2 separate regions of the Homo sapiens genome follow, and region 2 is linked to region 1. The links are contacts of gene promoters, found by promoter capture Hi-C in blood cells and fetal thymus (Javierre and others, 2016). All regions are on one chromosome and are shown on one strand. The core of a region is centred on a gene start or on the middle of the fragment in contact, and the rest is flanking DNA. Distances in the headings are between cores, read along the strand shown. Region 1 holds the start of BRAF (B-Raf proto-oncogene, serine/threonine kinase). Region 2 overlaps FMC1-LUC7L2 (FMC1-LUC7L2 readthrough).

Region 1 (6,019 bases), core at 2,244-4,743:
TGGCAGCACTGGGGGTTTGGGGGAGGTGCTCAGAAGACAGGCTGTGTCCAATGGCAAAGGACTTGTATCTATTTATGCATGCAGTGGAGGCCTCAGAAGCTGAAAAAAGAAGGTAAGGGCTTGTTCATTAGCATACTGTATTAGTCCATTTTCACACTGCTGATAAAGACATACCCGAGACTGGGCAATTTATAAAAGAGGTTTAATTAGACTTACAGTTCCACATGGCTGTGGCTGGGGAAGCCTCACAATCATGGCAGAAGGCAAGGAGGAGCAAGTCAACGTATTACACGGATGGTAGCAGGCAAAGGGAGAGTTTGTGCAGGGAAACTCCCGTTTTTAAAACCATCAGATCTTGTGAGACTCATTCACTATCATGAGAACAGTGCAGGGAAGATCTACTCCCATAATTCAATCAGCTCCCATGGGGTCCCTCCCACAACACATGGGAATTCAAGATGAGATTTGAGTGGGGACACAGCCAAATACTGAGATGTGTCTTGGTGATTACTAGTAATAAAGAGGAGAGAAAGTTGACTGGTGTAGAACGCTTTGGAAGAAGGTTTGTGTGCGGCTGCAGATAGCCAGTTTATTATTTTAAACATGACGTGGTGGTTTTAAAACATGGCTGTAAATTCTTTGACACTTCATTGAGAAGTGGGCTCAATATCCCCTCTCCTTGAATTTGAGCCCGACTTACTGACTTGCTCATAATATAAAATGATGCAGCAGAAGTCATGCTGTGTGGCTTTGGAGGCTAGATCATAAAATGCAATTCAGCTTTAACCTTGTTTACTGAAACACTAGCATTTGAAGCCCTGAGCTGCTTCGTAAGAAGTCTGACTACTCTGAGGCAGCCATGCTAGGAGGAAGCTCAGGCCACATGAAGAGTAGATTTAGGTATTCTGGCTGACTGCCCTATCTGAGGTCCCAGCTTCAACCACCAGCCATGTCAGAAAATATGCCTCCAAAGGATTTCAGTCTTCAACCATTGAGACACCCCCAGGCACTGAGTCTTCCCAGCTGAAGCCCCAGACATCATGGAGCAGAGATAAGCCATCTTTGCTATGCCTTGTCTGAATTCTGACTGAGAGGGTAATTTTATATTTTTCAAAGGGTGAAAGTATAATGTTTGATCCTCACAATGATAGTTTGGCAGGTTGGGCTAGCATTATTATAACCTTCATTTTATAGATTAAAAAACAAAACAACAAACAGGGATTTAAGCTTACCTGCTTTGAGATTGTATAGCTAAGGTGTGGAGTGCTGACGCTAAAATCCTGATCTTTGGACTCCAAAGCTTATGCTTTCTCTCGTTTCTCATCTGGATACTGTAGGACTTTAGAATGGCCTAAGGAAGTAAAACAGGATATATCCAGAATTTTAAGGCAAGGTCAGAAAATGTCAAATGAGTAGAACGCTAAGAAGAATCAATATTAAATGGATGAGACCAGTCATCCTGTGGAGAAATAATCATGGAAGATCTGAACTACAGACTGATACTGACAAATAAGGCTAGAATTCAAAATGGAACCAATGTGAGGATAAAAGCCTTTAAAACTTTTAATGTTATAAGGAAGTGTTATAATGATATAACATTTTTAGCAGCTAATTTTTTAAAAATGAAATAGGACAGTTAGAGAATTAACAAAAATCTTGCCAGTTGTGTTTCTGATGAAAGGGTGATGAAAGGGTGATGAAAGGGGAAAAGGTGCCATGACTGGCTAATGGTGCTATTTCAGTCTGCTTCTAAGTATGTCCTTATAGTAAAGGGTGCTTCAGATTAGTTTAGCTTGATGACATCATCCCTTGTGATCATTTACTCTACATTTGCCAAGCCACTTTTTGATTTAAATTTATTTCCTCATAGAAACTTTCCTACTTGGAGGAGAATGTACAATGAAGTTAACAAAGCATACCATGTTCATGTTTTTTTTTTTTTGGAGACAGAGTCTGGCTCTGTTGCCCAGGCTGGAGTTCAGTGGTGCAATCTCGGCTCACTGCAACCTCTGCCTCCCAGGTTCAAATGATTCTCCTGCCTCAGGCTCCTGAGTAGCTGGGATTACAAGTGTGCACCACCACACCAGGCTAATTTTTTGTACTTTTAATAGAGATGAGGTTTCACTACGTTGGCCAGGCTGGTCTCAAACTCCTGGCCTCAGGTGATCCATCCGCCTCAGACTCCCAAAGTGTTGGGATTACAGGCGTGAGCCACTGCGCCCGGCCTACAATGTTCATCTTATAGGTTATATTTTTTCAATGCAGAAGAATGTTAGTATTCTCATTCATCAAGCAGCCTCACACAGCATCCTTTACCTGAGAGTAAGCATCAGCTCCCAGGCTTACGGTGACCCTAATCAATATGAAGACACCCTGTTTCAGAAGTCAGTAGGACACCTTTCTATTTCTTGAATCATCCAAAATACAGTAAGGAGGTCGCTGGTGACTTCCCCCATGATGGGAAGTACTAAAAGGCAGAATCCACTTAGTTTTTCATGACTTCATGTTTAGGTTACTTTGGTGATTCACTCCAGGCCATTGGGAGCCCACAGTAATTGTTTCTCATTCCCGTTTCTCTCTTCCTTAAACTTTTCTTTTCCAATTATTTATTCTTTATTAGATCCATGTATTTTTAATAATGAATTGAATTTCATTCTGTAATTGGGCTTCTCAAAGATAATTGACCTCTTCTCTCCCAATTGTTTTCATGCGTATTTTGCAGAGAATGCTTGGAATATTCTGTTCATGAAAGGCACAAAGTACATAAAATATTTTGAGTGATTTTCTTCAAAATAAAAATGATTAGTTTTGATGCTTCAGATGTCTAGAATGCTATGTGCCTTGTACAGGCCCTACGGCATGGAAAGTGCTCAACTGATATTTGTTAAATGAATGAATCTGGAAAACGAAAAATACACGAAATATTTTATTCCTCAACAATGAAGAAAAAGCTTTCAGACTTCCATTTAGACTCGTTTTAACTGGCTGAATTCTTCAATGAAAAGAAAACACGCGTCGCACTGCTAATTTAGCTGTTCCTAAATATATTTCCATCAAATTCTGCTTGGCTGTTTCAACCTTGGGGTTGAAGTTCTTATTTTGATGACACAGAGACGTTCATTGCAGTGGAAATAGCAAGTAGTATTGGCTTCCCCGCCTTCCTCCCTCTAGGATTTCAACTTCTCCTCCTCGAACACCAGCCCTGCTCTTCTAGTAAATCCCACATTACAGAACAGGCTGAGGACGGAGGAGACAAGAGGAAAGTAGGAAACCGGAGCCATGGAAACGGCGGAGCGGAGGCAAAGTGTGAGAGCGCGGGTGGTTAGAAGGGAAAAAACCCTCCCCGGACGACGGCGCGAAGGCGCGCCTCAGATTACGTCACGCACCGGGGTGACGTCACGACCGTGACACGCGGGTGACGCCGTTGCCGCGGCGACTTCTCGTCGTCTCCGCCCCCTTCCCCCGCTCCCCCCCGCACCCCCGCCTAGCGTCCTTCCCCCAATCCCCTCAGGCTCGGCTGCGCCCGGGGCCGCGGGCCGGTACCTGAGGTGGCCCAGGCGCCCTCCGCCCGCGGCGCCGCCCGGGCCGCTCCTCCCCGCGCCCCCCGCGCCCCCCGCTCCTCCGCCTCCGCCTCCGCCTCCGCCTCCCCCAGCTCTCCGCCTCCCTTCCCCCTCCCCGCCCGACAGCGGCCGCTCGGGCCCCGGCTCTCGGTTATAAGATGGCGGCGCTGAGCGGTGGCGGTGGTGGCGGCGCGGAGCCGGGCCAGGCTCTGTTCAACGGGGACATGGAGCCCGAGGCCGGCGCCGGCGCCGGCGCCGCGGCCTCTTCGGCTGCGGACCCTGCCATTCCGGAGGAGGTGAGTGCTGGCGCCACCCTGCCGCCCTCCCGACTCCGGGCTCGGCGGCTGGCTGGTGTTTATTTTGGAAAGAGGCGGCGGTGGGGGCTTGATGCCCTCAGCCACCTTCTCGGGCCAGCTCCGCGGGCTGGGAGGTGGGCATCGCCCCCGTGTCCCTCTCCGTCATGCAGCGCCTTCCTACGTAAACACACACAATGGCCCGGGGGGTTTCCCTGGCCCCCACCCCAGATGTGGGGATTGGGGCAGCGGTGGTTGAGCGGGAGGCTATCAATAGGGGGCGAAACTCAGGGTTGGTCCGAGAAGGTCACGATTGGCTGAAGTATCCAGCTCTGCATCTCTGTGGGGTGGGGGCGGCGGCGGCCTCGACGTGGAGGATATAGGTTAGTTGCTGGGGCTGAGACAACAGCCCGAGTTACTGTCGCGTGTAATTCTTACATGGTCGTGGGGATGATGGGGCTCATCATTTCCTCTCTCCTCTCCCGGACTGCCCCCCTTCTCAGTCCGCTGCCCTTTTTCACTTTTCTATTTGGGGATTTCTCTTCACCTGTTTTACCCAGCAAATTATTTTGATTTAGTCTTTACTTTTTCAATCCTAAATCGCAGTTTCCGATGCCTTTTCTGGTCTCTGGTCCTCTGTTCCTAATGTTTGTCAGCGCTCTGTCGCTGATTGGTAACCCCCATTCTATTCCCATCTACCGCCCGCTCATTTTCCAGTTGTCGGACCTGCCTGCCTTCTAACCCCAGCTCCCACTTAAGAGCATTTTTGCACTTCTCTTACCCTGGTCCTCTTGAGGCTCTGTACTTGATCTCACCACTCCCTAACATTGTTGTCTGTTGTTATCTTCACAAATCCTCCTGGACACTTTGGAGCTACTTGTTTTCTGAGCCCAGAAGCTGTCAAGATTCCATCAGGTTTCACTTGGCTCTTTTCGCGCTTGCACTACTGGCACTTTTTGGCTAGTCGTCCATTGTGCATTCACACCTCTTTATTCCTACCCATTTTTATAGGTCTGATTGATTTCTTAGTGTTGTCCTCCTTTTTGTCCTATTTTTTTCCTTTTCCTTTTTCCTCTCCAGTCCTTGCTTCTCTCAGCCTGTTTTTGCATTAGTCAGCCTCTTAGCACTGTGTCAAATTATTTACGTTTTTTTATTACATAAAATTTATTACAAATATTTGGTATTTTATTACAGAAAATAATACTTTATTATGCTTTACAAATAAGATATGGTATAATAATTGTGGTTTACAGTTATTGATTAGGTAATGTGACTTACTCTGTTGACTTTGCTCGAAGTTCTCTTTGCTACTTACTATTAACATCTAATTTCTCAATTCTCATAACATCTCATTCTCTCTGCAATTTTTTTTTTGCATCATCATCTTTGGAAATTCATCCAATATGCTTGCTTTATTCAGCATCAGCTTGTTTATGATAATGTTTGTTTTCTACTCTTTATATCATCTTTGTTACATGCCCAAAATGTGTTCTGTACCATCATTTGATCTGTTCTAAAATTTCTCATTTTTAAGTTTCTTAAAATCATTCCACTTTTCAGTATGCATTTTTGCTTAGATCAGTTTCCTCTCATATCTGTTCCTTTCCCCCAGCTTCTTGATTTCTAAGGAGAAAGCTCTTCTCTACTTCAATTTCCTAGTTTATTCTGTTTCCCTTGTTTCCAGTTACCATTCATTTTGCCTTGTTTCCTGGCTTTTGGTACTTAACTTTCTGAAGCTTCCTCTTTTCTTCTCCACACCTCCACGTTCCTTCTTATTTATAAACATCTTTGTTTCCTTTGACATGGAAATTTATTTTTAGGATACATTGTTTTTAATGGATAAATACTAGGGGTCACATCTGCTGTCTGTTTTCTCCAGGAATCGGATATGCCTTTGTCTTAACCAGGCACAGGTGCCTCTGGATTTTATTTTACTCTGTAATAGATGTGTAGTTTTGTTGAATTGTATCTTGTTTGAAGACTACTACAGAGTGGAACAATGAGTGAAGTAATAAGTAGGGGTTATGAAATTGTAATTCTCTGATTATAAAATTGTTTATCTTGGGAACTTTGCTGCAGAGTTATTAGAACCGTTTGCAATTCTGTAAAGAAGGCTTTTGTGAAGTAAAATCTCTACCCTTCTATTTTATTTGAAAGGGCCAGATT
Region 2 (6,019 bases), core at 1,054-3,553, 1.6 Mb after region 1:
ATCACTTGAGGTCAGGAGTTTGAGACCAGCCTGGCCAACATGGCAAAACCTCATCTCTACTAAAAATACAAAAATTAGCAGGGCATGACAGTGCATGCCTGTCATCTCAGCCACTCGGGAAGCTAGGGTAATCGCCTGAACTCGAGAGGCGGAGGTTGCAGTGAGCCAAGATCAGGCCACTGCATTTCACGCCTGGGAGACAGAGACTCTGTCTCCAAAAAATAAAAAATAAAAATAAATAATAATAAAGGCAATAAGTGTGACAAACATTTGGGAAACACTGATCTAGAAGAGGGTTTCTCAAACTTTTAATGTGTATCAGAATCACCTGGAAGGTTTCTAAAAACATGGATTGCTGGGGCCCATATCCAGAATTTCTGACTCAGTAGGTGGGTCCAAGAATTTATATTTCTAACAATACGACGTGATGCTGAGGTGATGCTGAATTGCTGCTCCAAGGACCACACTTGGTTTAGAATAACTAAACCAGAATGGTGATCAACAAGCTTTTGTTAGAGTCAAATGGTAAATGTTTTCGGTTTGCGGGCCATATGACTCTGTTGCAACCATTCAGCTCTGCTGTCGTAAGCCAAAGCAGCCATAGACATCATGTATATGAATCGGCATGGATGTGTTCCAATAAAACTTTATTTACCAAAAGCAGGAGGCCATAGTGCCAGTCCCTGATCTAAAACATACCTTCAAGTAACTTTAACTATTAAACTATTAAAGTTACTTTAAGAGAAAAGTCTACCATTTAAACTAATACTAGAGCACAGTACAGAACAGAACAGCCAGGTATATTATAGATACTATCCAATAATTATCAGTTAACTCTAAAAGAGAAAACTGGGGTCTGCAGAAATCTAAGGTATTAAGATTAAAAACAAAAACCATTTACCATATTCAGGAGACAAGATTCAGCAAGGGCAGCTGGTTAAATTCCTTTCATGTTGAGTCAAATAAGTCAAACATCAGTTGTACATGGTTCACAACTATACTGGAACATATGGGTCAATACTGAGTGCTTTTTGGAAAGAAGTTTTAAAGATTCTTTTCTATGCTAATAGCAAAATATGACATTTATTCAGCTGAATGGACTTCATGTTACTTTCTGACGGCTTTGACTTCTCAAAGTCCTAAGTTATTCAGTTCAAACAAAAACATGGAGCTGCAGATGATTTCAGAGTTTTCACAAATTAATTTCTCTATATCCTCAATAATCTTGCAAAACTGAACAACTGACCTATTTTGGCCCTGCCTTCCAATATCTATTCTAGCAGCTGCTAGTGCATGAGAACCTAAACAAAAAGGAAACAGAATAGCTTTTCTGCAAGTTTTGAATTCACAAGATTCCCTCTTCACTCCCTCATTCTTTTTCCAGTAAGATGTTCCAACTTCCTTCACCTTCTTATAGTTTCTTAGTAGATTAAGTTATGCCAAACTGCTTGTTTCCTCAAGAACTCTACATACTAACAGCAGTAGGCTTTAAGAATTCAGTCCTTTTCAAGCACCTTTCTGGAATTCCATCTTTGGGGAGTATCTGCCTCATTTAACTAGTCTTGCCCACTTATTGACCTTTAGTTTTAAACCATCTGCCTGTCTTCTCAACCCTCCTGCTTGCTGAACTCACAGCAACTTTAAGCTTCAATGCTTTGTATGAACCACCTGTTACTGAAGAGTACCTGATTCACTAAACCTGACCTTGATCCATGACACCTCATGGCCATTGAATTCCTACTACCCATCTTGAACACGTTGAACACTACCATCTATCCTTATATGACAACATCCAACCTAAACGAAAATAAAAGAATTTACTTGCTCCTTATAGAACTGATGCAGAAATAGACAAAATGATTTTTCTTTGTTTTGCTTATATTTACCTGAAGTAAAAGAATGTCTCAGAAGCATATGCTTACTTGAGGAGAACTAAACAACTGTAGAGAATCCAGGAACGATGCAATGTTATATGAAGTGATACTTTTATTGTTTTCTGGGCTGCTGTGTAGATAGAAATATTATTCAGAGTTCAAAATGCAAAATGAGGAAAACTTTTCTTTTTTCATTGATTCACTATGCAGGTGCTTTCAGTGTTTTGGATATGCCTGAAACTCTGATAAAGTTAAATAGTTAACTGAAACGCAGAGAAACTACTGTTTAATCCTATAAAACTCCTTATATTAAAGAATTTACAAGCTCTAGACTAAGAAATATCCTGTTATTATTTAAAAAATGTCTGCGTATACATTAAAGGCTCCGCCTCCTTCACTTAAAATGAACAATCCAAGTGGAATAAAAGAATGGCTCACAACTGACCAAGAAATGAATATGGTTCATTATGTTAATGAGAAAAAATTAAGAGAAAATGTTTTCAATGTTGATGAAAAGTCAAGGAACACAGATTACAGTAAAGATGATTTTATAAATAAAATCCATTAAAGAACGCACTACTTCAAACTTTGATTCAGTAATTTTGCAGAAAGGCAGAAATGTCATACTATCTTACAGATTACACGGTTATGTACTACTAACCTTACATTAGCAACAAGTAAATGGCTTTCTTAACAGTATTTTCCTGGGTATGAGGATGAGTATCCTTTCAGTTTTATATCCCACAAACTATAACTACTGTACAACTGATCAGCAAAAATATTATGATTAATATGTTAACTGAGGAAGTATATCCTACAATTTAGAAAGATTAACATTTAAAATAGTTAAAATTATTGAAAGTTTTAACTTGCCCGAAACAGTCCCTAACCATAAGGGACAATTAATGATGCTATAAAATTCTATCTAACATTCCTAGTCTACTTGTTGTTTTGGAGGGCAGGCTGCCATTCCTGCCTATTTTAATCTTTCGAAGGTGGTCTCTGCTCCCATTTAAAGGTATAAGCAATTAAGAGATACAGAACCCTCAGAACTACCTTCTATAACTTACCTAATTTCTAAGCTTAAAATGTAATCTAGGCTGGGCATGGTGGATCACCCGAGGTCAGGAGTTCGAGACCATCCTGGCCAACATGGAGAAACCCCATCTCTACTAAAAATACAAAAATTAGCCAGACGTAGTGGCAGCCACCTGTAATCCCAGCTACTCGGGAGGCTGAGGCAGGAGAATCACTCGAACCCAGGAGGTGGAGGTTGTAGCAGTGAGCCGAGATCGTGCCACTGCACTCCAGCCTGGGCAACAGAGACCCTGTCTCAAAAAAAAAAAAAAAAAAAAAAAAAAAGGATGTAATCTAAATCCACACCCTCAATTTTATTTAATTCTTATTGCTTGCATCTTCCCAGACTTTCCTGGGATCAAGACTAGAGACTTATGACCAAACTGTGTTTGTTGGCAAAGGGGCTTTAGCTAAGGAACATCCTTGCAATTAATCCAACTGAGCAAAAATCACAGTCTGTGTGAGGGTACTGGGTTCTTCCAACTGTCACACAGACAATTCTCAAACTGTTTCTTGGATTTTCCTGTGCAACTCCTCCCTGCTTTCAAATAGAATGAATATGTTCAGGGAAAACAAATTATCCCTCTCCCCTCTGCTAACAACTAAAACAGAAAGATATTTATAAAACGTAATGAATCATAAACAAGATAAAATAAACTAGTAATTACTATCTACTTATAGCTCCTTTCTAAAAAAACTTAAAATATATTTATTTTTCAACATTTCTGAGTATAACATAGGAAATTATTTGGTTTCCCATATAACAAATTACAGATTTAACTTGAGGCAAAAAAGGTTAAGTGACTTACCCAAGGTTACAATTAGAGGTACAGCTGGGGCTAGAAACCAGGTCTCCTGAGTCTCAGCCCAGTGCTCTTTTCCTTAGCCCATGATGCCTTATCAGAAAAATCCAAATACAGTCAGACCCCCAGTTATATGGGTATGAGTTACACTGATTCACATATACAAACTTTATATAGTGTGACCAATGTTTCAACTCACGCGGTACCCTGCTTCCATTTATGCAGTATGCCAGGCATCGGCACGATTTTCAGTGGCACACAGGCGGTTGCCACCACCAGGGCCCTAGGCAAAATTGCAAAGAAGGCAGAGTTTGTCTTTGGCCCTCCCACCTCCCTTATGCATTTCTCTCCCACCTCCTGGCAGTCCCCCTGCCCAGCCTCCCGGCACCATCATGCTGCCCTCAGATTGTCTAAAGCCCCCAACTTCCACCACTCACCCAGGAATGTCCTTTCTTGAAGTGCCCAGTGATCCAAAATTACCTCTCCATTTCCCTGCTAACAAAATTCCTACTCCTAAGGATTCCAGTGAAGTTTAGGTAATCTAAATGATTAACTACTTTATGTAATTCAAGTTAAGGTATATTTAACTAACAGACTTAAATCTCCAATGAATTTTAAAAGGAACTAATTAAAAACTGTCAGGAAGGGGAGGGGGAAGAAACCTTGAGGGGGTGAGGAGGTAATGTTTTCCCAAAGCCCCAGGACTCTGTGCCACTTCAGATTCCTTCACAGACAGGACACTAAGAGTGGAGGGGGTCACTGCCACCTTGAACCCCACTTCCAAAAAAGAGAGTCGCTGCTTTATAGTCTCTGGAATTAAAAAAAAAAAAAAAAAAGGACAGAGTTGCCTTAAATACCCTCCTACCTACCTTTTCCATCTCTCTCCCACCTCCTGGATACCCATTTCCACCTCTTAGTGCCAAAGACACCCAACAGCGTTCCCATAGGCTGTTTGTGTGTCCAATACAAGGGTTCCCATTAAATGGTTTCAAATTACATGGTGTTATTCAGGGGACGTTTCCATGTTCCCCTATCCCTGGGTAACTTGAAGTTGACTGTATGCTAAAAAAGAACAATCCTAATTATTAAAAGTCCTGAATCATAAAATGATATATATAAACTCATTAAATGGTAAGAAAAAAAAGAATGTTCTGATTATTTTGCATATATAGAATTAATTTTGATATCTAAAAAAAACTCCACTCAATTATTTTTCCTTGAAAGTAGTATATTTTTTACTTCTAACCCAATACAGCAGTGAAAATCCAGTCATTTCAGCTAAACAATACTGTGGACTCGTAAATATGAGTTCGATCATAAATCCTCTAAGTCTGAAGGTTAAAAAAAAAAATCCAGTAACAGACACATAAAAAAATACACAAAGTGGATTTTAAGAAATCCATGTTTCTGCTGACTACACACACAGAAATATATATATTTAAATTTAGCTTTGCAATACTAGACGGGCTGCCTAATTCAGAAACTTATCAGGAGATGGTTTACCTTGATCCAACTACCCTCCCAGTAAAACTAAGAAATCCAATCCATGAAGAAGATCCCAAAAATGGTATCCATCAAGGATTAAAAGGATCATGTAAAGCACGTCTTAAATAACTTAATTTTATTACACAGATTAGTTATTCTGTTAGCTAGGATCCAATGAAACCCGTTCCCAATACCCTCTCTCATGTTGGAAAAGGAGGAATGTTAAGACATGCTGCAGTGATAAAGTAACCATTCTTATCTAAACGTGAGAAATGATAACAGTTAAAAGTTTCTCCAGTGGCATTTTAAGTTAATGTTAACTTTCCATACAAAACTCATTTCCTTCCCAATCTTTCCTCTCTACACAACCACAAGTAGGTTTGCCATCTACACCTATTTGTCTATATATTCTACAAATAAAAGTTCCCAATATGGGTTTTTATTAAAACTGAAAATGTGAACACTGAAAAGCCACTCTACGCACTGCTGAAAGATTTGAATGCAATAAAATTTTTAAAATTTACTCATATTTTGCTGTAAAGCACTCATGTAAATTAAAAGAGTAACTTAAAAACTAAATTTAAGACGTGCCTTTTCTCTTAAATCAATACACTTAAATAACTTCTCAAGAAAAAAAGCATTTCCTTAGTGGCTAAGAAACTATCTGCCTAAAGAAGCAACACATAAAAACTACCAAGGATTTTGCTGTGTTAAGAAAGTAATGAACTAGACCTTTCCTACATATTTGAATGTATTTAAGTTGAATTTGAGAGTACATTA

The links. Contacts are between HindIII fragments. The CHiCAGO score rates a contact against its expected background, and 5 or more counts as called.
Region 2: a fragment that was not itself captured here is called in contact with the fragment with the promoter of BRAF in region 1 in 1 of 17 cell types (total B cells); the score reaches 5.3 in total B cells.

The regions. Positions count from the first base shown.
Region 1 is chr7:140,922,403-140,928,421 of GRCh38, reverse strand. BRAF (B-Raf proto-oncogene, serine/threonine kinase) reads left to right here and starts at 3,493. Exons shown (of 18, transcript NM_004333.6): 1 at 3,493-3,856. The coding sequence starts at 3,719. LOC105375536 (a long non-coding RNA gene) reads right to left here and starts at 3,330. Exons shown (of 5, transcript XR_002956518.2): 1 at 1,920-3,330; 2 at 1,233-1,351. RefSeq lists a silencer at 3,601-3,670. The HindIII fragment of the contact is 2,638 bases long and covers 2,954-5,591 here.
Region 2 is chr7:139,361,194-139,367,212 of GRCh38, reverse strand. All of the region lies in intron 2 of FMC1-LUC7L2 (FMC1-LUC7L2 readthrough), which reads right to left. The region is part of intron 1 of LUC7L2 (LUC7 like 2, pre-mRNA splicing factor); the gene reads right to left. Among named protein-coding and RNA genes, the nearest start is that of LUC7L2, 4.3 kb to the right of the region's middle. The HindIII fragment of the contact is 1,311 bases long and covers 1,648-2,958 here.